Linked DNA regions of Homo sapiens: regions 2, 3, 4 and 5 are each linked to region 1. Evidence: promoter capture Hi-C in 16 types of primary human blood cells and fetal thymus (Javierre and others, 2016). All regions are on one chromosome and are shown on one strand. The core of a region is centred on a gene start or on the middle of the fragment in contact, and the rest is flanking DNA. Distances in the headings are between cores, read along the strand shown. Region 1 holds the start of STX11 (syntaxin 11). Region 2 overlaps UTRN (utrophin). Region 3 overlaps UTRN (utrophin). Region 4 overlaps UTRN (utrophin). Region 5 overlaps UTRN (utrophin).

What was found. The method cuts DNA at HindIII sites, captures the fragments that hold promoters and counts their contacts. A CHiCAGO score of 5 or more calls a contact.
Region 2: a fragment that was not itself captured here is called in contact with the fragment with the promoter of STX11 in region 1 in 1 of 17 cell types (megakaryocytes); the score reaches 5.3 in megakaryocytes.
Region 3: a contact is called between a fragment that was not itself captured here and the fragment with the promoter of STX11 in region 1, in 4 of 17 cell types (total B cells, naive B cells, naive CD8 T cells and 1 more). The highest score is 7.2, in total B cells.
Region 4: a contact is called between a fragment that was not itself captured here and the fragment with the promoter of STX11 in region 1, in 3 of 17 cell types (total CD8 T cells, naive CD4 T cells and naive B cells). The highest score is 6.8, in total CD8 T cells.
Region 5: a contact is called between a fragment that was not itself captured here and the fragment with the promoter of STX11 in region 1, in 5 of 17 cell types (naive B cells, total CD8 T cells, total B cells and 2 more). The highest score is 6.4, in naive B cells.

Annotation. Positions count from the first base shown.
Region 1 is chr6:144,149,123-144,154,304 of GRCh38, forward strand. STX11 (syntaxin 11) reads left to right here and starts at 1,395. Exons shown (of 2, transcript NM_003764.4): 1 at 1,395-1,581. RefSeq lists a silencer at 1,082-1,521. The HindIII fragment of the contact is 10,810 bases long and covers 1-5,182 here.
Region 2 is chr6:144,489,350-144,494,690 of GRCh38, forward strand. UTRN (utrophin) reads left to right here. Exons shown (of 75, transcript NM_007124.3): 31 at 722-850; 32 at 1,580-1,753; 33 at 3,952-4,107. Among named protein-coding and RNA genes, the nearest start is that of SNORA98, 86 kb to the left of the region's middle. The HindIII fragment of the contact is 1,202 bases long and covers 2,577-3,778 here.
Region 3 is chr6:144,417,935-144,423,433 of GRCh38, forward strand. It overlaps UTRN (utrophin), which reads left to right. Exons shown (of 75, transcript NM_007124.3): 4 at 3,944-4,036. Among named protein-coding and RNA genes, the nearest start is that of SNORA98, 15 kb to the left of the region's middle. The HindIII fragment of the contact is 2,541 bases long and covers 2,676-5,216 here.
Region 4 is chr6:144,473,124-144,478,902 of GRCh38, forward strand. It overlaps UTRN (utrophin), which reads left to right. Exons shown (of 75, transcript NM_007124.3): 24 at 597-710; 25 at 1,481-1,636. Among named protein-coding and RNA genes, the nearest start is that of SNORA98, 70 kb to the left of the region's middle. RefSeq lists an enhancer at 1-1,081. The HindIII fragment of the contact is 2,534 bases long and covers 842-3,375 here.
Region 5 is chr6:144,442,041-144,447,370 of GRCh38, forward strand. UTRN (utrophin) reads left to right here. Exons shown (of 75, transcript NM_007124.3): 14 at 2,241-2,342; 15 at 5,171-5,278. Among named protein-coding and RNA genes, the nearest start is that of SNORA98, 39 kb to the left of the region's middle. The HindIII fragment of the contact is 1,068 bases long and covers 1,439-2,506 here.

The DNA of each region.
Region 1 (5,182 bases), core at 145-2,644:
GTAGTGTCTGTCGGCTTTCTCCATTGTAAACCTACTGTTTTTCCCTTTCCACATTGTACTATTTTGGAGGAAGTCACTGTGCACAGCCTAGGGTACATGATCTACATAAATTATTTGGAATTATTCTGTATAGGAGATTTGTCTCCTCTCCGCCTTTTATTTATTTATTCAATTATTTATTTATATCAGTGTAGACTCATGGATTTTTTTACTTTGGCTTGTAATCCAATACTACCTTGTTTAGTTTACTTCGTTGCTCAAATGGTTCCATCTTTGGCAACTGGGAGCTTTCAGGTGGTTCCTGTGTCTAAACATTCTGCCATCAAGGCAGGATTCGTTCTTTAGTTTTATTTTTTTTCTTCTCATTCAATTGAGACAGCGTCTCATTCTGTCGCCCAGGCTGGAGTACAGTGGCGCGATCTCGGCTCACTGCATCCTTGACCTCTCAGCCTCAAGTGATCCTCCCACCTTAGCCTCCCGAGCAGCTGGGATCACAGCGTGCGCCACCACGCCCAGTTAATTTTTTTATTTTTTGTAGAGATAGGCTTTCACCACATCGCTCAGGCTGGTCTCAAACTCCTGGGCTCAAGAGATCCTCCCCCTTCGGCCTCCCAAAGTGTTAGGAATACGCGCGTGAGCCACCGCGCCCGGCCCGATTTTTCCTTTTTTGAGTATCACTTCCTTACTTTTCAGCCTCAGCCTTGTTTTTCAAGGTGCTTTACCACCACCTGGCACAATCCACACTTTCTATTTATCCCTCCCCGTTAAAGTGCCGGGACCTGGAGGGTGGGTCTTGGCAGTATTTTTGAGCGCGGTGGGCACACAAGGGGACGCTCAGTTGATATCCAGAGAATGATGAGCCCGGCGGGTGTTGAGGCCGACTGGAGAGAGGTTGGTCGGCAGGGTTCTGGGAAGGCGGTGCTCGGCCTCCGTGTGACCGCAGGCTCCTCGCCCGCGTCCTCGAGGGTCCCAGGGATGCAGGACCTGCCGCAGCTTCCGCAGCCACACCCACGCTCAGAGACGGCTTCCAGCGTCCTCGCCGCGGCAACGCACCGGACTGCAAATGTCACCAGCGCAGCGGGGATTCCCGGGGGAAGTCCAGCGCGCTCCCTGCCCTGGGGACCAGAGGACGAGCGGAGGAAGTGTCTTGGGCGGCAAACATCCCACTCCCCGCGCCGGTCCGCGCAGCCCGCGGGAACGCCCCTGGGCTTGCGGGAGGGGCTGGAGCGCGTCCCCGGCTCCGGGCGGTCCCGAGCGCATGGACTCTGGGTGGGGCGGGAACCCGCGCTCTGTGAGCCGGCTGCCGCCGCGCCCCAGCGCTGTCATCCCGGGGCGGGGCCTGGTCCCCAGCTGTGGTCGCTTCCTAAGCGGCGGGGGCTGAGCCGGCGGCGCCCAGATGCGGCCGCGGCGGCGCGGAGCTCGGGCGGCCGTGGAGGAACTCAGCCTCGGCCGCAGGAGGCGCCGGGAGCGGAGCCGCCGGGAGTCGCGCAACAGGTTTCCTTCTCCATCGCTGCGCCCACAGGGGACGCGCGCCCTGCCGGGAGAGGGGCTTCTCGGTTCGCACTCTCGCTCCCAGTCCAGGTTTGTTTTTCTCTTCCTGAGCCCCCATTTCTCTTCCTGACTATTTTCCCCGTGCGCGGAGAGATCGGGGAGGGCGGGTCGGGGCGGGGGCACTGTCTAGGCTCGGGACCCGCGGCTGTGCCTTAGGTGGGATTTTGGATCTGGCGCAGGTCCTCACGCCGCCTCTGGGCACCTTCGGAAACACAGCATTGGGTTTCTCATATAAAGCAGAATGATTTTTTAAAATTACTTTTAATTTCAGAGGCTGAGGGACTTAGGATTTAGTGCTTCGTAAGAATTATTTTAGGGATACCTGTTGGTAGGCTGCCTTTATAAAGTGTCCACCCAAGACTACTTTTATTTTAAATCGAAAGGCTGGAGTGTTTTTTTATTATCACCTCTTCACTTCCTAGTAGGGTGACTGTGTCAAAAACACCAGAATGGGTACTTCTTGACTTGAACTTGGCGGTGTCACTCAGTAGCCAGGAAAGACGGAGAAATTGATAGAGCCTTCGAGGAGTCCCTTCGAAGCCCACGTAAGACTTTGTTTTAGAAACATGGAGAGAAGTAGTGGCAATGCCTGCGAGAGCCACGCCGTCCTGAGAGGGAATTCTGCCTTTTTCTAGACTCCGCTGACACCAGCTGAGATCTGTATTACTTCCTGTGGTTCTCACGCACTTGTTTCAGCCGTTTCTCAGCAGAGGGAGGAGCTGTTATTTACAGGTATCCAAAAATGAGTCACAGGGCTGCTCTCTTAATTGTGAGACTTTGTTAATGAACTTTTGAAAAGCGAGGCTTGCTTTAAAATGAGACTCTAGATGTGAAATGCCTGCCCTGCCAACCTGGGGCAGTGGTATGGGAAGTGACGATTGAGTTTTCAGTTTCCTAAGGCGCCTGATGTTACAACATGCCAGTAAAGGTCACTGGGCTGATCTAAGATAACCATTGAAATCATGTGCTTTGCCACAGATGCCCAAGAGAAAATTAATTTCATTATTCAATGACCATTTTGCTGTCATTTTCACTGCATGGGAGAAAGGTATCATTTAATGTGGTGATTGTAAGTAACTCTCTAAAATCAAAATATTTCAGACAGTTTGTGTTTACTAAATTGGTGCTAAAACCACATGATGATTTTTGAAGCGGGTGGGTCCCAGCGGGAGCAGAGAAATTTAAAAGTTGAAGCTGACAAGTCCTATTGCGGTGGGTAACAGCCCTTAGGAAGGGACTGCACACTATCTCAACACGGTAGAGAAGGGGACACCATCTCTACTGGAGCTGAGTTGAGCTGAATTCAGCCTCAAACAACAGTTACCAGGTACCTTCTCTGTGCCAGCCTCTTCCCTGAACCTTGCTTGTACAACCATGAATAATAGGATCCTGCCGGCAAGGTACTAGGGTAAATCTATACCCAGAGTGAAGTTTCTGTGCCAATATAACTCAATATGCTGGGTCCCAGTGTATTTAAAGAGTAGACTCAGCAGATTATCACCCCTAGATAATTGCGGTCACGATTAGTTGATAGTGTGACTTTTAAGAAATAGTGTGACTAATTAATAGTTTATTTAAATATGCTGGAAAATTCAATATAATGAGATAGGTGCTAGGGTAAATCTATACCCAGAGAAAAGTTTCTGTCCCAATATGACTGATGTTTCTGAAGATCTGGGATTTGGAATGGACTGGGTCATGGCTGGAAGAGCAAGGAAACTTTTGAGTTTAGTCATTTACTTGTCTTTGTAGGCAGCCTATTCTTCATTTGATACATGATTTAAAAATGTATGAATTTGAAAGGTATGGTTTTTAAAGTGCTTGAATGAACCATGTTTCATGTTATTTAATAACCATGTAAAACGAAATTCAGCTGATTATCACCCCTGGACAATTGCAGTCACCTTTAGTTAACAGCATGACTTTTAGGAAATGGTGTGACTAATTAATAGGTTGTTTTGTTTTGTTTTGTTTTTTGAGACAGAGTCTCACTCTGTTGCCCCAGGCTGGAGTGTGGTGGTGCAATCTTGGCTCACTGCAACCTCCACCTCCTGCGTTTAAGCAATTCTTGTGCTTCAGCGTCCCAAGTAGCTGGGACTACAGACACCCACCACAACACCCGGCTAATTTTTGTATTTTTAGTAGGGACAAGGTTCGGCCCTGTTGGCCAGGCTGGTCTCGAACTGCTGACCTCAGGTGATCTGCTTGCCTTGGCCTCCCAAAGTGCTGGGATTGCAGATGTGAGCCACCATGCCCTGCCTAATAGTTTATACATTGGTAACACTATATTGAAGCGAGTTTATGATCATTGTTTTTGTAGTTCAAATCAATGTTTTTTATCACATTATAGCCGTGTGAGCCAAAATGAATAAATCTACCGTATCACAGTTTACTGTTGCAATTGAAATCTGCTGAGATGCTTTTGAACTGGATGCCCAAGTATCAAGGTTTCCAAGTTTCCCCAGTTTGCTAAGATATCCAACTGGTAAAGGCAACAATGCTAAATTTCAGACAACTTTACCTTAATTTCCAAACTTTATTCCTCCTTTGAGAGCCCTAAAGTTACTTTTTCTATGAGAAAGAAAGGGTCGAGTTTGTCATTCAGCATTGTACTCCCTGAACTTGGCCCAGGCTTGTCTCATGATAAGTGTTAGAAAGTGTTTATTGATGGAATAATGAACCTTCACGTAGGAGGATGAATTGTCAGGCAAGTGGAATTGTCTGCTGTAGGTGACCCAGCAGAAGGAACAGCACCCATAGAGAAGTGAAACAGCACTGGACGTTCAGGAAACTCCAGCCTGTTTAGTGACGGCACAGAGGGAGGCCTACGGAGACAGGAAGGGCCAGATCACAAAGGCCCCATGAGGGTTTAATAGTACTGAAGCCTTTGAACAAGTGAATGATATTGTCAGGTATGTGTTTAAAAAATAATAACAAAACTTGGAATTTTAAAAATCTTAGATTAGATGAGAGTGACATTGACCCTAGGAAGACACCGTGGAAACTGTTGTCATATTGCAGATGGGACATTGAAGAAGGCCTGAATCGGGCAGTGACAATGCAGATGGGAAAAGAGGGAAGGGGCTGGTAGAGGTTTAATAGGTGGAACCCTGTCGGGTGTGTGTAATGAGGAGGTAGGAGCAGTTGAGATGACTCCCATGTTTCTAATGAATGACTAGGATAAGAATATCCTACTCGGTGGAAGAATAGGTTTGGGCTAAAGGGTGGTGAGGAGCTCACACAGTACTTGGCACATAATCAGTGCTCATTAAGATTTTTCAAATGAATGCTAGTAATAGCTAAAATTTATTGAGTGCTTATTAAGGGCCATGTACTATCCTAGACTCACTATGTGCGTTAAGCCTTTTACTCGTCAGTACAATCCTGTGAGATAGGTACTCAAATTAACTGCTTTGACTGGTGAAGAAAGTGCAGTGTTAGTAACTGACAGAGCCAGAAATGGATCCCAAGCACTTGGTTCCAGAGCTTGCATTCTGAAGCACCCTGCTGTGATGTGCTGTCTTGATGAATGAATCAATGAGGTTTTGGACTTTGTGGTAAGCTCAGGTTGAAGTCACTCTCCTGCCCCTAACAATTCTTCCTTATCCAAGAATGGCCTTGATGCATAAGA
Region 2 (5,341 bases), core at 1,928-4,427, 340 kb after region 1:
TATTGTCCAGGCTAGTCTCAAACTCCTGACTTCAGGTGATCCACCTTCCTCGGCCTCCCAAAATGCTGGGATTACAGGCGTGAGCCACTGTGCCTGGCTGAAAAGTCCTGTATATTTTAAATTGTAGTTTTCTTAGCTGTGAAGTTGGGACAATTCCTTCCTTATAAATAAGTTGTGAACATTAGAAACGACAAATGCAAAGCCCTTAGCAGGTGCGTCATGTACAATAGTCATACCATGCAGTGGGCCATATTATTATTATTATACAAAAACGTATTATTATTATTTTTTAGACGGATTCTCACTCTGTTGCCCAGGCTAGAGTGCAGTGGCGCGATCTCGGCTCACTGCAAACTCTGCCCCACAGGTTCAAGCAATTCTCCTGCCTCAGCCTCCCGAGTAGCTGGGATTATAGGCGCCCGCCACCGTGCCCAGCTAATTTTTGTATTTTTAGTAGAGATGGGGTTTCACCATCTTGGCCAGGCTGGTCTTGAACTCCTGATGTCGTGATCCACCCGCCTCGGCCTCCCAAAGTGTTGGGATTACAGGCATAAGCCACCGCACCTGGCCTACAAAAACTTATTAAAGCTTCTGTGGAGGTCAACATTATGTAAAATACGATATCATGTATTACACAACGATATAGAACTTTTGTATTGTCTCTTTTTATACTTAAGTAAAAAAAAAAGGACATCCTCTCCCCTTTCCAATCTCTTTTTAGAAAATCCAAGCAGAGATCTCAGCCCATGAGCTAACCCTAGAGGAGTTGAGAAGAAATATGCGTTCTCAGCCCCTGACCTCCCCAGAGAGTAGGACTGCCAGAGGAGGAAGTCAGATGGATGTGCTACAGGTAAAGAAGGCCAGGAGCTTCCTTTTACTTTTCAACTTGTTGGGAATTTTCTTCAAAAAAGAGAAAGAATTGATTACTTGGGCACCGTTTGTATTCTTTGTGATGTAAACCATGGGATGGGAGTGATGATGTGTTGAAGGTTGCATCCTAGGGCAGCAGAAACAAATTGTTGCATGTGTGGAAAAATATGAAATCTGATTTTGATAGCTGAGATGAGAAACAAGAGAGTGAGCCAGATTTAGAAGTTAGCTTTATATACACTTTTTCTTTAATGCAGAGCCTCTGTCAGTATCGTGTGGCTGATGCTGTGGGCAGGCCGAGCATGAATTGGATGCAGCATCATTTAGTTCTTTCATGGTTGATATGACATTGACTTTCACTCTGAACTTGTGATGAAGGGCATTTTGAGTTCTAGGTTCCTGAACTATCTTTTTGAACATGAAGTTTTAATTCCAGTGAGGTCAGCTTTATCTAAATTTCTTATCCAAATCTATTACTTCTGAGATTGAGACACTGAGTGTTGTAATTTTTGACACTGGGCTATGCAGTTCACTTAGGTGATCGGGTACCCTCACTGAGATTCATTAGGAGTTTTTTATTTTGGGTCATATTTCTGAATTTTTTTCTTTTGGTACTTTATGGTACAAATTTTTAGTAGTATCTGTTATGCTCATGATGAGAGAGATAATCATCCTGATGGGAATTGCATATTTTCATTTCTGCAAACAGAGGAAACTCCGAGAGGTGTCCACAAAGTTCCAGCTTTTCCAGAAGCCAGCTAACTTCGAGCAGCGCATGCTGGACTGCAAGCGTGTGCTGGATGGCGTGAAAGCAGAACTTCACGTTCTGGATGTGAAGGACGTAGACCCTGACGTCATACAGACGCACCTGGACAAGTGTATGGTGAGGCTTTTGGGTGATTGGCACATCCAGTGGCTTTTTCAGCAGCTGTTATGGCTTGGTCTAGCAAGTACATGCCTAGTGTGTCCAGTGATCACTAGTCTACAGTGTGCTAAACATAAGGATTGATGATGGAAAACGTGTTAAAAAATAAGAAGTGTGGTCTTTCCCTCCAAAGAAATTAGAAGAGATAAGAGAGATAGCTAAGGAAACTAGAATAGACATGTATATAACATGATGACAAAAACCAAAACAAAAGAAATACAGCTTAATCACCATGTGAAGTTAGGAGGGCTTCAGCAGAGTGTGACTAATAAGCAAAGTTTTCAAGGATAAATTTGAATTAGCTAGAAGAACCATACTTAGAATGGATATCGTAAAAATTCCATTTTCTAGGAAAATAAAAATTTCAATAGAAATTTAAACCTTAAGATAGGAAAGAAGAAATGATATATAAGGCCTTATTACTTTTTTAGTCTTGAACTTTATAATTCAATTGAATAGAAATTTAAAAATAATGTGGCTAAGGGGACACAATCTTAGAATTAGTGTTCTGCTTGAGAATCACAGAACTTAAGATGAGACTCTTTAGGACAGGAGAGGTATAGGGACAGTTCTTTGTGCTTTTCAAAACAAAGGATAAATTTTAATATATATGTGCATGTATGTAAGTATTTATTTGATTATTGTGACATAATGGTAATCAGAGAAAGTGCTGTCCTTGACTTCATGGAACATACATAGTTCAGGGGTCTGTTACATGACAGCGTCCTATGAGATGTTGAGATGATGATGTATAGGTGTCAAGAGAAGCTGTTTAGAATAAAGCTTTTTGGTTTCAGGTAACTAGGAAGAAGACAGCTCTGAATTTGACCTACAGAACTACGATTTCTTTTTTTATATTTAAATTTATTTTTATTTTTAATTTTTGAAGACTTTTAGGTTCAGGAAGTACATGTGCACGTTTGATACATGGATATATTGTATGATGCTGAGGTTTGGGCTTCGACTGAACCCATCACCCAAATAATAAATGTAGTACCCAATTGGTAGTTTTTCAGCTCTTGCCCCTTTCCTCCTTCCCTCCTTTTGGAGTCCCATTGTCTTTGCTTTCCATCTTTATGTGCATGTGTGCCCATTGTTTAACTCCCACTTATAAGTGAGAACATTTAGTATTTGGTTTTCTGTTCCTGAATTAATTTACTTAGGATAATGGCCTTGAGCTGCATTCATGCTGCTGCAAAGGACATGATTTCATTTTTTATGGCTGTGTAGTGTTCCGTGGTGTATTTGTACCACGTTTTCTTTATCCATTCCCCCATTGATGGGCACCTAGATTGATGACATGTCTTTGCTATTGTGTGTAGTGGTGTGATAAACACGGGAGTGCATGTGTCCTTTTGGTAGAACGATTATCCTCCTTTACTTATATACCCAGTAATAGGATTTCTGGGTTGAATAATAATTCTATGTTTAGTTCTTTGAGATATTTCCAAACTGCTTTCCCTAGGGGCTGAACTGATTTACAATCCTACCAACAGTGTATGGTGTTCCCTTTTCTCTGCAGCCTTGCCAGCATCTGTTGTTTTTTGACTTTTTAATAATGGTCATTCAGACTGGTGTGAGATAGTATCTTATTGTGGTTTTGATTTGCATCAGAAATCTGTTTACTTATAGTTATATACATCTTGATATATCGAGTTTTGTATTTTTTATCATACAAATTATATATGTTCATTGTGGTAGACTTAGTACTTCTGAGAAATAGAAATAAATGTTAATAATTCCAAATCCAACAGACAGCAGTAGCCAGTGTTGGCTTGTTTTAGTCATAACATGCAAGATTTTTTAAAAATGTAATTTTAATTGTGATAAACATTCTGTTTTTAGTCCTAATGTTTTCCCATTTTATGTAGGAAAAATATTTATATTATCAAGTACTTTCATAAGCATTTGTCTGAGATTTTGAAAGAATGAGCATAAACTCTATTAGTTTATTTTCTTGTCAGATTTGAAGAAGTTATTACAAGCTTGATTTCATTTGACTCGACCTTCAGACCAAATCTGAGAAAGATGATGGCCTTTGATCACCATAGTTAGGTCTTGGCTGTCAATCTGTGTAAGCTGTGGTCTGACATGATGCCAGTTGGCAAGTTGTCACCACAGTGTGTAATTTGTCTTTTTCTTTGTTTGTTTTAAAGAAACTGTATAAAACTTTGAGTGAAGTCAAACTTGAAGTGGAAACTGTGATTAAAACAGGAAGACATATTGTCCAGAAACAGCAAACGGACAACCCAAAAGGGATGGATGAGCAGCTGACTTCCCTGAAGGTTCTTTACAATGACCTGGGCGCACAGGTGAGGAGAGCAGCCCCACAGCTCATCTCTCTGTCTCTCTCTCTCTCTCTCTCAATCTCTCTCTCTCTCTCGTTCTCTCTCATGTATTTTTAAATTTCATTTTTTGGAAAATGCATGTTTGAAAATTATGAGATTCATACGTGTTTTCAATTTATTGTAATAATTGTTATATTTCTTTAAATGTATGTGGTAATATTACAGTGATTCATAGTTACATAGAAATTTATTTTTGGCTAGGCACAGTGGCTCACGCCTGTAATCCCAGGTCTTTGGGAGGCTGAGTCAGGTAATGGCTTGAGCCCAGGGGTTTGAGACCAGCCTGGGCAACATGATGAAACCTTGTCTCTACAAAAAAATACAAATGAAAACCTCCAAAAACAAAACAAATTTCCAAAAAAAAATTAGCCATGGTGGTGAGTATCTGTAGTCCTAGCTACCTGGGAGGCTGAGGTGGGAGAGCTGCTTGAACCTGAGAGGCAGAGGTTGCAGTGAGCTGAGATCACACCACTACACTCCAGCCTAGGAACAGAGTGAGACACTGTTTTTAAAAAAAATTTATTTTTAATATTTAATTCAGGCTAATATTTATACTTTCAATGGCTACTGATATTCCATAAATTATTCTAAGGATACTACAAGTAATATATGTTCATTGTGGTAGACTTAGTGTGTCTGGAATTGGTGGGTTCTTGGTCTCACTGACTTCAAGAATGAAGCTGTGGACCCTCGTGGTGAGTGTTACAGCTCTTAAGGTGGCGCATCTGGAGTTTGTTCCTTCTGATGTTCGGATGTGCTTGGAGTTTCTTCCTTCTGGTGGGTTCATGGTCTTCCTGGCTCAGGAGTGACGCTGCAGACCTTTGCAGTGAGTGTTACAGCTCTTAAGGCAGCGCATCTGGAGTTGTTCGTTCCTCCCAGTGGGCTTGTGGTCTCGCTGGCTTCAGGAGTGAAGCTGCAGACCTTTGCAGTGAGTGTTACAGCTCATAAAAGCAGTGTGGACCCAAAGAGTGAGCAGTAGCAAGATTTATTGCAAAGAGCAAAAGAACAAAGCTTCCACAGTGTGGAAGGGGACCCGAGCGGGTTGCCACTGCTGGCTCGCGCAGCCTGCTTTTATTCTCTTATCTGGCCCTACCCACATCCTGCTGATTGGTAGAGACGAGTGGTCTGTTTTGACAGGGCGCTGATTGGTGCGTTTACAATCCCTGAGCTAGACACAAAGGTTCTCCATGTCCCCACC
Region 3 (5,499 bases), core at 2,696-5,195, 270 kb after region 1:
TGAGATGAAGAAGTGCTTAGTTGTTGTCTCAGTCCTTTCAGATATTGTTGATATTTTATTACACTTTTCTGCCAATAGAAAACACTAAAGTTATGCTTGTGATATAGTCACATCAACCATTTAATGAACATCTGTCATCTTAGTTTAACAGGTAAACAAATAGATGCAGAAAGGCCAAGTAACTTGCCCAAAATTCTATGGCCAATAAGAGGCTTCTTGTTTACAGATGAGGTCATTAATGGACATCCATAATTATTTATAATATGAATAAATATTTATATTTCTTTTTTTTTTTTTGAGATGGAGTCTCGCTCTGTCACCCAGGCTGGAGTGCAGTGGCGTGATCTTGGCTCACTGCAAGCTCTGCCTCCCAGGTTCATGCCATTCTCCTGCCTCAGCCTCCCGAGTAGCTGGGACTACAGGCGCCCGCCACCACGCCCGGCTAATTTTTTTTTTTTTTTTGTATTTTTAGTAGAGACGGGATTTCACTGTGTTAGCCAGGATGGTCTCGATCTCCTGACCTCGTGGTCCGCCCGCCTCGGCCTCCTAAAGTGCTGGGATTACAGGCGTGAGCCATCGTGCCAGGCCTGTATTTCTTTTATATAATGCTGTTTTTGTTGTTGTTGTTTGTTTGTTTGTTTGTTTTTTTGAGACAGAGTCTTGCTGTGTTGCCTAGGTTGTAGTGCAGTGGCATGCAGTCTCCATCTCCTCTGGGTTCAAGCAATTTTCCTGCCTCAGTCTCCCAAGTAGCTGGGATTACAGGTGTGCACCACCACACCCAGCCAATTTTTGTATTTTTAGTAGAGATGGGGTTTTGCCACATTGGCCAGGCTGGTCTCGAATTCCTGCTCAAGTGATCCTCTCGCCTCGGCCTCCCAAAGTGCTGAGATTACAGACATGAGCCACCGTGCCCAGCCAGTTGTTTTATATTATACTATTTTTTGGAAAGTGGAGAGTGGATTTGAGAAGGGTTTCAGGCTGCCCAGGTGTTATATTAGCTGCCCTTGCCATCATCAGTATTTTCTAAGATCCTTTCTATGCCTATATAACCCCATTTGTTTCTCCCATGCGCTTTACCTATATAATATATTTTTGCTATGCCTAAGACCTGAAAGTGAATTCGGTTATTTGTTGGCTATTTTGCAGAATTGTACTTCTGGTTGGGTGGGGGAGGGGGATTAGACGTAGGCAGGTGACGAAGGCCACTTCTGCCCATTGCTTTTACTGACAGTGGGTAGCAAGTCCTCAGGGGACTTTCCCCTCAAGGGGAAATTACCCCTTACCCGGCTTCCTGAAGTTCTGCCTCTGGAAAGTGGCCCCTGCATCTTGCACATCTCTGTGTTATTTTGATTGATGGAGAAAATCTCTTTGTCCCTGAATCTATCGCTGCCTGTGAAAAAGGCAGCTGGGAACAGAAAAGCAGCTTTGTTTCAGATATGAATAAGTAACAGTGTATTCTTTACTGATTCTGTGGTGAAAATTTACTGCACTTTCCCTCATCTGAAGTATATGAATGATGAAAAAGGCACATGCTAAAAATTATGAGTTGGCTATACCTAATACCTGTTTAAAAACAGATAGAGGGAGGGGAACAAGGGTTGAAAAACTACCTACTGGGTACTGTGTTCACTACTTGGGCAATGGGGTCATTCGAGACCCAAACCTCAGTGTCACACAACATACCCATGTAACAAACCTGCATATGAACTCCCTGAATCTGAATGTTTTAAAAGATAATTAAATTATGCCTTGTAAAAAACTAAATAAAGTCTAGTTCAAGGGTCAGCTCCTGTCTGAAGCCTTTGCCCACTCCCTGGCTTGCAGTGGTCTTGGGGTCTCTCTCTCCTCTGTGCTTCTATAGCACTGGCACACTTTTCTATTCCAGACCTTACACATCGCACTGTAATTGTTATTTTCTAAAAAAGAGTATCACTTCCACTGAATGGTAAGCTGTTGAGTGTGCAGAAATATGGAATCTTTATTCATCTTTGTAATTCAGGTCTCTTCAGGTACACACACTTGTGCGCACACAGACACAGACACACACACACACACACACACACAATAAAAACAGATAAGGAATCACGAGGGAAGGAAGGAAGGAATAATGCCAAATTTTAGGAAACTTCAGAATGGCTCCTTCTTCCCCCTCCTCCATTTCAAACTCAGAGTAAAGTTTTGCTTCATATGAATGATATGTATATATTTTTTAAAGTGAGAAATGAAGAAGATAAAAGAAGTATTGGTTAAAAAATATCTATTATTGACAGGAAGTGGGACTGTTCATCTCTGTGGAGATTTTATTATATAAGGCAGTAATTCGATACAAGATAATACAACATTTATTAAATATTACATTGTATTCTGTAGTTCTCAGGGCATTTTCTTATAATATTCTATTATTTGATCTTTACAGTGACTTTTGATTTAAAAGGTTAGGTAGCTGAGCCAGGTTCACCAGGTAGTTAAAGGTCAAACTGGACTTAAAGCCGAGGCTTCCTGATTTTCTATGCGGTGATCACCCCATTGCATAATAATTCATTGTATCACAGACAGGCAAGGATCTACCAAACTTACAGTGAATGGAGTGGGATTTTCTGGCATCAGACACTAGAGCAGGATTATCTGTGGGAGTTGATGCTATTTATCAGGAAAAAGAGTTTAGAAATTCTATAAGCTTTGTCAGTTAAAATCTTGGACTGGTACTAGTTTTAAGCACAAAAAGTATTTAATTGTTAAGCCCAAAGTGCCTTAAGTGTTAAGAAATTAATAACCAGAAATACAGACTGAACACCTCAGCCCTGAAATTGATGACCAAATCACGTACTCCCATAATGGAAAGGCTGGAAGACATTGTCACACTGTGATGTGAGACGCAGTGATGAAGTGACAGTCCTTATACTTTTAGTTGGCCTCTGCACCCGGATGTTGTAGGCTCATTTACATTTTTAATGCGTCTCGTTATCATTGCTTTCTCAGGAACATATGCCATACTCAAGGCCTATTATTTTGTCGTTTATTGTTCTTTCTTCCACTTTACTGTATATTTGTGTGAAATTATGTCCAGACTTTGTAGTGTTTTTGTTTTTTGAGATGGAGTCTTGCCATGTTGCCCAGGCTGGAGTGCAGTGGCACGATCTTGGCTCACTGCAACCTTCACCTCCTGGGTTCAAGCAACTCTCCTGCCTCAGCCTCCCGAGTAGTTGGGATTGCAGGTGCCTACCGCCATGCCCGGCTAATTTTTGTATTTTTACTAGAGATGAGGTTTCACCATATTGGCCAGGCTGGTCTCAAACTTCTGAGCTTGCCTCGGCCTCCCAAGTGCTGGAATTACAGGCATGAACCACGATGCCCAACAGCTTGATTTGCTTTCTTTGTAAGGAAAAATGCAATTTATTTCAGCTTAAAATATTCTTTATGGGATTTAAAAATTTCTGTATTTGTACTTGTTCTTTCTATAAAAGACAAATTTGGGCCGGGTGCAGTGGCTCACGCCTGTAATCCCAGCACTTTGGGAGGCCGAGGTGGGCGGATCATGAGGTCAGGAGATCGAGACCATCCTGGCTAACATGGTGAAACCCCATCTCTACTAAAAATATAAAAAATTAGCTGGGCGTGGTGGCGGGCGCCTGTAGTCCCAGCTACTCGGGAGGCTGAGGCAGGAGAATGGCGTGAACCCTGGAGGCGGAGGTTGCAGTGAGCTGAGATCACTCCACTGCACTCCAGCCTGGGCGACAGAGTGAGACTCTGTCTAAAAAAAAAATTAATTAATTAAAATAAATAAATAAATAAAAACCCCCAAAAGACAAATTTGGATAGTCTGCAGATCATCCACAACATTTTAATTGAGCAAAAAATGAAGCCACTCATTTATTTGCCCAGGTATATATGGAGTTTCTGCTGTTGGCATACCCCATATTTTATTTGTGTTTTTCTTTTACAGAGTGGGAAACCACCCATCAATGATATGTTCACAGACCTCAAAGATGGAAGGAAGCTATTGGATCTTCTAGAAGGCCTCACAGGAACATCACTGGTGAGCAAGTCATCTTTGTAAACAACGGAGTCTCCGGTCATTGCTGATACTTGATGACCCAGTGTGGGTACCCATTAAAGTGAAAGTATCCATTTTACTTTACGTTCAAATGTAAAGGCTGAAATTCGGAACATTTTTAACAAAGCATTTTAATGAGTGCTTTGATACAACAACATTTTGGCTCTTCTGAGGGCTCTGTTTTTATTGAAGATAAAATTACCTTAAATGTTTATTGCTCTGAGACAGCCCAGGATGAGAGAATTACAAAAAAGAATGGATTTATAGAGAGGACACAATGTTTTGAACAGTAGAGTCTGGAGACAAACACATTTAAGAGTTAAATATTTTTTAAAACAGTTGTTAAGGCTGGGCGCGGTAGCTCACGCCTGTAATCCTAGCACTTTGGGAAGCCAAGGTGGGCGGATTGCCTGAGCTCAGCAGTTCGAGACCAGCCTGAGCAACATGGTGAAACCCCATCTCTACTAAAATACAAAAAATTAGCTGGGTGTGGCGGCATGTGCCTGTAATCCCAGGTACTCAGGAGGCTGAGGCCAGGAGAATTGCTTGAACACAGGAGGTGGAGGTTGCAGTGAGCCGAGATTGCGCCACTGCACTCCAGCCTGGGCAACAGAGTGAGACTCCGTCTCAAAAAAAAAAAAAAGTTGTTAAAAACTATGACATCTATTTTTTATTCAGATTTTCAGGATTATATTTTGTTGATTTATTTTTTAAATACAACTCTATTATTTTATGTGTGGGGTACTCCAAACTCATGCAGATAAAACTGCCAATAAAGAGGATGCATGTATGGGTACAAATGTTAACTCTAGAGGTAGAATTACTATCACAGTACAGAGAGATGCACTCCTGAAGATGAATTTCTTTCTTGCAGAAGTGTGGGATGTCATTCTCTCTCTTTGCCCTCCAGGTAGTGGGTAGACAACTGTTAGACAGGCTGATTCCTCTCTCAGATAAGGTTCTGGCCAGTGAAGTAGAAAGAAGCTGCATAGGTTATCTTTCCCCAGATGGGAATTCCCTGCCTTCCGAGGGCTCTTGCAATGCTACCTGGAGCCTGGGATGGTGCCTCTGAATCCTCCTTGCTCTGTTCACATCTGTGCAGAATAAAGAGGACACAATTTCTCTAAAATCCTTCTGCAGCCAGACCAATTAAGAGAAAGGAAGCTTTGTTCATAGAGCACTGGTTTCCAAACTTGTCTGCACATTAGAACTACAGGCAATCTTTTAAAAATCCCAAGTCCAGACCACACCCTAGACCCATTAAGCCACACTCTTTGGGGGTGGGGTTGGACAGAGGTATTGGTGTTTTTATGAAGCTGCCTAGGAGATTTCAACGTGCATGCAAGTTAGGGAACTGGTATCTTAAGATGTTGTTAGTTGAGGGATTTTCATACTGTGAACACCAGCTTCCAGGGTGGTAACCTGAGACCTCAGCCAGATCTCCT
Region 4 (5,779 bases), core at 859-3,358, 320 kb after region 1:
TCTTTGCAAAATGTTTGCTTTCACATTTGTCTTTGAACCCCTATCGCCATACACAGTAGCTGGATTTTATATATATAGTAGGTGCTTAATAAATGTTGGATGAAATATTGGAGCTGAACGGGGACTGTCTTGAGTTCTCAGATAAAAAGGCATCCAAAAGCAGAAATGAGAACCATCTATTGTATTCCCTCTACCGTGCTATTTGTTTATTCCTGCTCTGAGTTACTAACTTTAGAGAAAAATTGTTCTAAATTATATCAGAGCAAAATATTTTATAGCTGATAAAACCTAGAAATGCATTTTTTCCCTGTAATTTGCATTTTAAATCATAACTATTGCTTGCATTTAAGCAAAAAGAGCTAGCGTTTGGAAATTTTTAGAGTGGTTACTAACCTGTCATCTCTTGAGGATTTTAGTCAAGAATGAAGAAAATAATCATTTTCAAATTTGGAAGGTTTAGAAAAAGAAATAACATAAATGAAAGCGATGCTATCGGAGCTTTAAAAAGTTCCTTTGTTCCAGTGGCGGTAGATCTTGAGATGTAGTAGGCTGAACGTCACGAAGTAATATCCCCCTCTGTTATCATGTTCGATTAGGCCGATTCAACAGTCATTGAGAAGTGGATGGATGGCGTGAAAGACTTCTTAATGAAACAGCAGGCTGCCCAAGGAGACGACGCAGGTCTACAGAGGCAGTTAGACCAGTGCTCTGTGAGTTCTGCTGATCTGGGGAACTTGTCATAAATAACATTTTGTTCTTTTTCTATGTTATTTGCTGCTATTATTAAAATTGTGAGAATATAGCATAGCATTACATCTAGATAAAATATCTTTCATCATAAAGCTTTTATGACTTTATAGCTAATAAAAGAATGACAGATTCTTCAAGTTTTTATTTCTGGACGTGGTTATAGAATTTTGAGAGGTTATAGAATAGAGAACAAGAACAATTTTGGTTCATTAGGAGTCATTGTATATTGCATTTCTTGTGCCACATGGTGAGGATTTAAGAAAAACATATTTAACAAATGAATTTGAGAAGTGTCTGTTCATCAAATTCATTTAAGTATGTTTTTCTTAAATCCTCACCATGTGGCACAAGAAAAGCAATATACAATGACTCCATGTTGTGCACGTGTACCCTAGAACTTAAAGTGTTAAAAAAACAAAAAACAAGAAATGAATTTGCTAGTAATAGTGCATGCAGTTTATATTTGGTGAAATCATCAGGCTTCTCTACATTAATTAAAAGGCTATTCCCTTCTGAGAGTCAAGTATTTCCAGTCTAATTTGGCAGATGGCTATATCAAGCACCCAGGTGAAATGAGTTTCTTAAGGCACAATATTTCTTAAGTAGTTAGAAGTACTGACTCTTAAGCAGTCTGCTTGTGTAATATTTGCAGGGAGATAAGCAGACAAACTATAATTATGGCATCCACTTATATAGTAATGAACTCAACATGCATCTTTTATGTGTTTAGGCATTTGTTAATGAAATAGAAACAATTGAATCATCTCTGAAAAACATGAAGGAAATAGAGACTAATCTTCGAAGTGGTCCAGTTGCTGGAATAAAAACTTGGGTGCAGACAAGACTAGGTGACTACCAAACTCAACTGGAGAAACTTAGCAAGGAGGTGAGTTTTTCAACTTTACTACCTACGGTTTTCAGGAGATGTAGACTGTAGCTTCTCTCAGCTGACTAAATGTATTATGACCCATCCAGTTTGAAAAACGATGGTCTAGAATAACTCCAGCATGGGTAGTGAGCTGGGGCCAAAAAAAAAGGCATCATTTTTTAAATTAAGAGAGGGTGCTGATTGTCCAGTTTGGCTCAGGGCTTATCCATTCTTGTCTTAAATCTGGCTTGAAACACATTTATGACACTTGCTTTACCCCTAAGACATTTGAGTGGGACCATTTATTTACTTAGCAAATATTTCTTAATCAGTTGCCACCTGTCAAGCATCATTCTAGGCACTGCAGGTACAGCATTGAACAAGGAAGAAGAAACTCCTCTTAAGGAGCTTACATTCTAGTGAGGCAGATGGATAATGAATAATATCATGGAGGAGTAGCAAGGAGTTAGGGCTAGGTGGGTTATTTCAAATAGGATGGTCAGGGAAGGACTTTCTGAGATGGGGATGTTTGAATAAAGAACTGAGTAAAGTAAGAGATGAGCCTTGTAAGGTTCAGATAAGAACATTCAGGCGTGGAGAATAGCAGGCTTTAAAACTCTGTGGTGGGAATGAACTTGGTCTGTTTAATAAAGAATGAAGGCAGTGTAGCTGGAATAAAACAGAGAGGAGTTAGTGAGTTGGAGAATGGGAATATTTGAGGTTAGAGGTAGGCAGAGGATGGATTAGCTATGGCCTTGGAGGAAAGGACTTGGGATTTATTTCAAGTATGATATTACACAGAAAGCAATTGGAAGGTTTTGAACAGGGAAGTGACATGTGATATAGATCTTTTAAGGTCACTCTGGCTTTTTGTTTTGTTTCCTTTTTTTTAGCAACAGTATCTTGTTGTATCACCCAGGCTGGAGTGCAGTGGCACAATCCTAGCTTACTGCAGCCTTGAACTCCTGGGCTCAAGCAGTCCTCCTGCCTCCTGGGTAGCTGGAACTATAGATGTTCACCACTATGCCTAGATAATTTTAGAAATATTTTTGAGCCAGATGCAGTGGTGCATGCTTGTAATCCCAGTACTTTGGGAGGCTGAGGTGGGTGGATTGCCTGAGCTCAGGAGTTTGAGACCAGCCTGGGCAACATGGCAAAACCTTATCTCTATAAAAAATACAAAAATTAGCCGGGCATGGTGGTGTGCGCCTATAGTCCCAGCTACTTAGGAGGCTGAGGTGGGAGGATGGCTTGAGCCCAGGGGATGGAGGTTGCAGTGAGCTGAGACTGCACCACTGCACTCCAGCCTGGGCGAAAGAGCCAGATCCTGTCTTAAAAAAAAAACAAAAATTGTAGAGATGGGGTTCTTAGAGGCTGAGGCAAAAGGATGGCTTGAGGTCAGCAGTTTGAGACCAGATGCCAGTCTGGTCAGATGCTGCTGACCTCAAGCAATCCTCCTGCCTCAGCCTCCCAAAGCGTGGAGATCACAGGCATGGGCCATTGCACTCGGCCTCTCTCTGGTTTTCATGTGAATAGTTTGCTCTGGGAAGGCAGGAATGAAAACAGAAAGAATTCTTATAAGGTTACTGCAGGCTTGGAGAGAGAGGATGGACCCATACACTAGGGAGGCTTAACGAAGTAGTGATGGAGGGCATGAGAAATATTAGGTTTGAAAATAAAGAAGAGACCTAAGGAAAGAATTGGATGTGTGATAGAAGAAAAAGTGAATGGTCAAGGATGACTCAGGATTTTTACAAAGCTTCCACTTTGTGTGAATTGTGGTGTCATTTACTGCAATAACGAAGGAGAAGCTTCTGTGGGTGTAGGTGAAATGATGACTACCATTCTGGAAGGGTTAAATTTGATGCTAGAAGCTAAGGAGGAAAAATCAGTAACGGGGAATGTGGGGTCCCAAATGCTAGGTGGAGAAAACTTTTCACAGGGCCTAATGCTGAGGATTGCAGGGGCCAATCAAAACAGAAAATCGAGCTTTAAATTTGATAAGAAGGAGGCATTTAATAACCTTGAGAAAGCAGGGTCAATGAACTGGTGGGAAAAAAGTCATAGTGGATAGTTCGAGGAGGGTATGGGAACTGAGGAGCTGGGACACCAAGCATAACCAACTTTGAGAAATTTCTGTCTTCAGGGGAGCAGAGAAATGGGTGGGTGCTGGTGATGGGAATCCAAAGAGGTGGTTTTGTTATTTTTAATAATGAGAGATATTAAATGAGAGATATTAATAAGAGGACCTCACTTTAGAAAAAAAATGATGGTGCAGAAAGAGATTGAGATAGGAGAATTTATCAAGTGAAGTCTGTGATTATGCGAGGATGAGATCCACCGTCTAAGTGAAGATGTTGCTAGAGATATGGTTTCTCCGTGGTAATGGAAGGGAGGAAATGATATGGGAACAGTAGAACTGGGAGGTATTCTTTCCCAATTGCTTTGATTTTTATTAGTGGAATAATAGTGAGGCTATATATAGCTGAAGTGAGTGACAAAGCAGTGAAAAATAGAAGTCAATATGAAATATAGGCTTACCCCACAGTCACGTAAATAGTACGTATTTCTTAATAAAATGCTTTTGGCTAATGTTTGTATCAGAAAAATTTATATTTGCATAACTGAATATTTTGCTTTGTGTTTATTGTTTTACCCAACTTATTTTGAACATGTTCAAATGTAAAGAAAAGTTAAAGAATGATAAAAAGGAACAGCTGTATATCCATCCATTCAGAGACTTGCTAATGTTTTACCACATTTGCTTTCTCTCTCTCTGCCTTTCTCTTTATACACACACACACACACACACACACACACGCACACACCCTTTTTTTTTGGTACTTTTGAACAGTAAGTTGAAAACATCATGACACTTCACCCCTAAATACTCTAGCATGATTTTCCAAGCATGAAGGCATTCTTCTGCAAAACCACAATACTATGATCACACTTAAGAAACTAATAATGTTATACTCTCATCTCTTATCCTAGCTAAATTCAAATTTTTCTCAATGTGCTATAATCTGATGGCATGTGCCTTAAGGAACTGGGGTTTTTGAGGAAATAGAAAATGGTTTGGAAGTGGCAATGAGGATCAAGGAAGGTGATAATTAGAAGTTTGTATCTCTATCTATCTATCTATCTATCTATCTATCTATCTATCTATCCATCCATCCACATACATATGGTGACAAATAATTCATTGTGAATTACTGATTCAAAATACAGGAATAAATATATGGGAAATTTAAAGTGTCCTCAGGAAGGAGGTAACCACATGTGTGAATAATTATCTAGAGCATTTCCAGACTATTGCATTGCATTGACTAGTACAAATGTTGAAGTAGTTTTGGACAAACATAATTTTGCCAAATTTTCATTTTGCTAAAAAGAACAGGCATATAAAACAAATCAACAAACAAAGATAGTCTATTTCATCTATTATATTCATGATATCCTGAAAAAAAGGAACATTTTAATGCCAAAAAATAGAAAGTATATATTCTCAGGATAATTAAAGATAATTTTGAGGGTGTTTTGTTGTTGTTAAGCTTATGGTAGTGTCTTTATTTTCTTCATTTCTTTTTGGATCTGTGAAAATTATATTGCTGACTAGTGTTCAAGAAGTACACATACAGAGAATTTTCTGGAAATGGGGCCCAAGAATCTCTGTCTCTCTCTTTCTCTTTCTGTGTGTGTGCATGTATTTTTATGAAAAGCTGACCAGGTTAACCTGATGATCAGCCAGGCTTGGGAATGGGATTGTGAGTGTTGCTGGCATCAGCTCCTTGGTTACCCTGTGGGGACAGTGGAAGAAAAGCTCTTGTTTGGTCCTGTCTATTTTTATGCCGGAGATCCTGTTTGGAGGGAGGGACTGGGAAAGCCTCTGTCTCTTGCTTAACTCTAACTTCTGTGAGAACCATCCAGCTCCTGTGCTGGCCTTTGGTTACTATCCACCTAGCAGCCAAGCAGGCCCTGGCAGGGTGGCCACTACTGTGGCGTTTAATTTGAGCATGAGGCTGAACCTGCCAAGTAGAGGTTGGACTGTGACTGCAGAACGGCGCCTTCTCTCACAGTAGAAGTCAGTTTGTCGTTATGGGGAGGAGTGCTCTGAAAATATTTCTAGACTTCTCCAAAATTTTTAACTAAGTTACTGAA
Region 5 (5,330 bases), core at 723-3,222, 290 kb after region 1:
GATGGGAGGGGCTGATGTGAAGACCTCTGACATGCCTGGAGATGTTTTCCGCATTGTCTTGGTGATTAACTTTTGCCTCTTTGTTACTTATGCAAATTTCTGCAGCCAGCTTGAATTTCTCCTCAGAAAATGAGATTTTCTTTTCTATTGCATTGTCAGGCTGCAAATTTCTCAAACTTTTATGATCTGTTTCCTTTATAAAACTGAATGCCTTTAACAGCACCCAAGTCATCTCCTGAATGCTTTGCTGCTTAGAAATTTCTTCCACAGGTACCCTAAATTTTCCCACATTTTTCTGTCTTCTTCTGAGCTCTCCAAATGTTTCCAACCTCTGCCTGTTACCGAGTTCCAAAGTCACTTCTACATTTTAGGGTATCTTTTCAACAGCACCCCACTCTACTGGTACCGATTTACTATATTAGTCCATTTTCATGCTGCTGATAAAAACATACCTGAGACTGGGAAGAAAAAGAGGTTTAATGGACTTACAGTTCCACATCGTTGGGGAGGCCTCACAATCATGGCAGAAGGGAAGGAGGAGCAAGTCACGATTTACATGCATGGTGGCAGGCAAAGAGAGAGAGCTTGTGCAGGGAAACTCCCTTTTGTAAAACCATCAGATCTCGTGAGACTTATTCACTATAATGAGAACAGCATGGGAAAGATCTGCCCCCATGCTTCAATTACCTCCCACCAAGTTCCTCTCAAAAAATGTGAGAACTGTGGTAGTTATAATGCAAGATGAGATTTGGATGGAGACACAGGCAAACCATATCACACAGGAGCTGATCTTATTAAGTGATCCACTGACTTCTTCTCAGAAGCACTTGAGGAGCTTGTTAAAATGTAGATTCCTAGGCTCTACCCACTACCTAAATCTAGGTGAGGGAGGGATGCAGTGAATTTGCAATGTAAGAAAAATCATGTGCATAGTAAAGTTTGAGAATTTCACCTAGTAGGATTCAATATCTCAGTGTTTTCGGTAGATTAATATGTGAATTTCAACAACAGTTTTGGAAACCTCCCAAAATTGCTTCTTTTTGCACAAAGGCAATAGTGTATCTTTACAAGTCTTTAACAGATAAATTTATTGGTATTTCATTTGAACAATACTTGGATTTTCTGGTAAGACGTTGCCAATTTATTTAAATATGATGCCTCATTAAGTGAGGCAATCCAAACTGTAATTTCATCACGTGAGGTCCTTTTGCTTTTGTGATATTTAAAGTCAGCCAGAGGTTCTAAGACTTGTATGCAGTAGTTAGTTATTATAACCTGAGAGCTAAGTATTCATGCCTTGACTATTTAGCAGTAAGGAATCTGAGATTCAGAGAGGTTAAGTAGTCCTCCTGAGATTTAAATAGACAATGAGTTATCATGCTGAGACTGGAAATCTATCTTCTGGCTCTTAAGTTTTCTCCCCCTTTGTACTATGAAAAGCTTATTCTCATATTAAGTATCAAAATAGTATAATATGAATTAAATAATTCTTGTTCACATGTATATAGTACAAAAATAAATTTTAACATTTGTTAATCATTATTTGTAAAATTGTAATAAAATGATTTTGGGAGAAAATAATCATGAAGAGTGATTTTTTATAATTAATAAAATTTATTTAGTATTGCTGATACTAGTAAGATTCTATTGCTAATTTATGTAACTTATGGGGAATTTTTTTATGGATCACATAATGTAAACAGAACAAATCATTTGATTTTTTTATTGTCTCATAAAAATTCTCTTATTCAAAACAGGTTTTATAAGTTAAACATTTTTCATAATTTTGGTACCACAGATGAAAATTTTCTTGGCATGTAAAAGAGAGTTAAGGAATATAACAGACATGCTGGTTTTTTTAGCTAAAAATTTGAAAAATTTGAAGCACAAAAAGTAGATATGTTTGTTTTATTTTTTAATAATATGTAAAAATGTCATATTCTCATAAAAACCACAATGAAATAGAAAGAGCAGGTTTGGAGTCAAAGATTCAGAGGATACAGTTCTATTATGTTAGTTTCTAGCTATGTGAAATCATTTGTTCAATTCTATGGAAATTAGTTTTTCTGATTCATACATTTCTAGGCCTAGTCTGTTATTTTAAAGCAATTTTTATAAAAATACTTTTTATAAGTTGTTATTCTATAATAAAGAACAATGGAAATCATGAATTTCTTCAAGGATTGTGATAACTCTCTCTTAAGGCTGTGTTGACAAAGGATGGTTTCTCCTTTTTCTAGAAACTTGGTGAGCGCTGGACAGCAGTATGCCGTTGGACTGAAGAACGCTGGAATAGGTTACAAGAAATCAATATATTGTGGCAGGAATTATTGGAAGAACAGGTATGAAACTGTTTTCCATAAGGGGCAAAATAAATGGTGAAAAGTAACCCATCTTTTATTGTGACTTTAGAATAAAGTTGCCTTGTTTACTTTTCTTTGAAAGGAAAATATATAAATAATTATTTTAAAGATCAAATTTCTATCCAGTTTATAACTGATCATGAAGCTTATTCACAGAGATTGTGTCATTTGGCTCCATTAATTTGACCTGTTTTCATTACTTGGAATGTTAGTACTTAGAAGATATGCTATTTTCATGATTTGTTTGACATCATAGTTATTAGTGGATTTGTGTTGGGTGATGTATTTGAATTTGTATCAACACAATGCCTAGCATATAATTTGTGCTCAGTAAATAATGAGTAATGAATCCACTCAACACACTGTGAACTTTAATTCCCTAGATTTTTTCTTGATTTTTAACAAGTATTGAAATTAATGAGAAAATATTATTTAGTCACACCTTTGATTTAACACTGGATTAATTGCATATTTTTTCCACTAAGTGTTATCACAGCAAATGAATCTGTTGTACAAAGCTGCCACCTTAATTTTTCAATAGGACTGGTGGCTCTTTGCCTGTTCTCTGTCTTTCCAGAAAAGCAACCATTGAAACAAAATACAAATAAACAAAACTTTTCTCCCCAAATGCCAAACAGTTGTGGTTTAAAAAATAAGTAGATACTGGCCGGGCAGGGTGGCTCACGCCTGTAATCCCAGCACTTTGGGAGGCTGAGGCAGGTGGATCACTTGAAGTCAGGAGTTCAAGACTAGCCCGGCCAACATAGTGAAACCCCGTCTCCACTAAAAATATAAAAATAAGCCAGGTGTGGCGGTGGGTGCCTGTAATCCCAGCTACTCAGGAGGCTGAGGCAGGAGAATTGCTGGAACCCAGGAGGCAGAGGTTGCAGTGAGCCGAGACTGTGCCACTGCACTCCAGCCTGGGAGACAAGAGCGAGACTCCCTCTCAAAAAAAAAAAAAAAAAAGCAAATACTCTATTCCCACATCTCTCAGTGTCCATTTTGATTCTTTTAAATGCATTTCATTTCCATCTATAAGAAGCAACTATATTCTCTTCAGGGGAAAAAACTCAAGTGTGTGATGTTTTGTGGCTTACTAAATATGGTGGCAGATAGTTGCAGAATTTGTCCAAATATAAATTGTTAATGACTACTTCCCCCCCCGCCCTCAATCTGTGGTCAGATTTTTCTTATTAGGAATCACAAAAGGGACCTGATTCTGATTTATGAAATGTTTACATTTCATGTTACAAATATTTACATTTCACTTTATAAATATTTATGTTTATTGTGAACCTTGTATTTAGGCCAAAAAGTCTCAGAATAGTTAAAATTTTACTTCAATAATGACAGTAGAAAGGCTGGGCGCGGTGGATCACGCTTGTAATCCCAGCACTTTGGGAGGCCGAGGCGGGCAGATCACTTGAGGTCAGACCAACATGTTGAAACCTGTCTCTACTAAAAATGCAAAAAATTAGCCAGGCCTGCAGTGGGCACCTGTAATCCCAGCCACTCAGGAGGCTATGGAGGCAGGAGAATTGCTTGAACCCAGGAAGCAGAGGTTGCAGTGATCCGAGATGGCACCACTGCACTCCAGTCTGGGTGACAGAGTGAGACTCTGTCTCAAAAAATAAAAATAATAGTAATAGTAATAATTGCAGTAGAAGACATCGATTGCTAGAGAAAACCATTGTGTTACTCTTCTATCCAGTAAAGTAATTGCAAATTTGGAAATAATTTTAATTTGATGATAAAAAACAGTTTAAAAATAGAGTGCTAGTATTTCAGTCACTTGTACCACTTTAGGTTTTAAACTGACCTTTCATCGTGTTCTATAATGATCTGACATTTTAACTATACCTTTTGTGTGTGTGTGTGTACTGTCTACATGTTCTGTCTGATGGCATCATTATTTATGTGCATATCTTACCAGCCTCACTAGACTGAGGACAGTATCCATTGGGGGGTGAAATATAGAGGCAAGGAATAGTTGTTAAATATTTAATTCATAAATAAAATTGCTGAGAAAGAATTGATTCCGTTGCAAATACAGAACCAAGTTGTTTTCCTCCCTACTAAATAGAAAAGGGTTTCCACCCTAAATGCTACATTTTGGGAGAAATTATCACAATGTAGCTACGGTTGTTTTCCATCCCTTCTTCAGGATTATCTCTCTACATGACTGAATATCCTCTGCTTAGAAAACACACATTGTTGTCCAATGAAGTTGAAAAATCTTTATATGGGCTTTGGGTGCTCTTCAGACTCCCTCCTTTAATCATAATTGCTGTTGAACCTTGAATGCTAGTGTGGATTTCCTACATGATGCCATGGAAAACACTGGTTTTGGGGTGTGGACCCTGGACCCAGCTCTGCCATTAACTATCCAAGTGATCTGGGACATGTAACTTGACTTCTCTTTCCTTCCTTTCTAAAATGAGGGGCTGGGACAAGACAATCTCCGAGCTTACTTCTGCCTCTAGGAAGTTGTAATGTAATTCCTTTGGAGACTTGCATAGTTGGATTTTCCCTTTTCCCTCCACCTATCTCCTTGAGAATTAGGTTTAGTTCCCTAGGTATGAGGCTAATGTCTGATTGTTCTGTTACAAATCTGAGAAGGATAATATTTTAAAGAAAGGTATCTTTCTGGGTCATTTGTGCCTCAGACTTAGGTGTTTGAAGGCCTTCTTATCCCCATGTAAGGGTGAAGCCTCTAATAAAATAAAAGTTAGAAATTTGGATGCATGATTTAATTGAATTACCAAATGATTTTGCAGATAAAGTTCAACTTTTGTTATTACTTGTAGTGCTTGTTGAAAGCTTGGTTAACCGAAAAAGAAGAGGCTTTAAATAAAGTCCAGACAAGCAACTTCAAAGACCAAAAGGAACTAAGTGTCAGTGTTCGACGTCTGGCTGTAAGTGATGGGGTTGTCAGCATCTGTGTTGTAAGCCTATGATATCTTAATG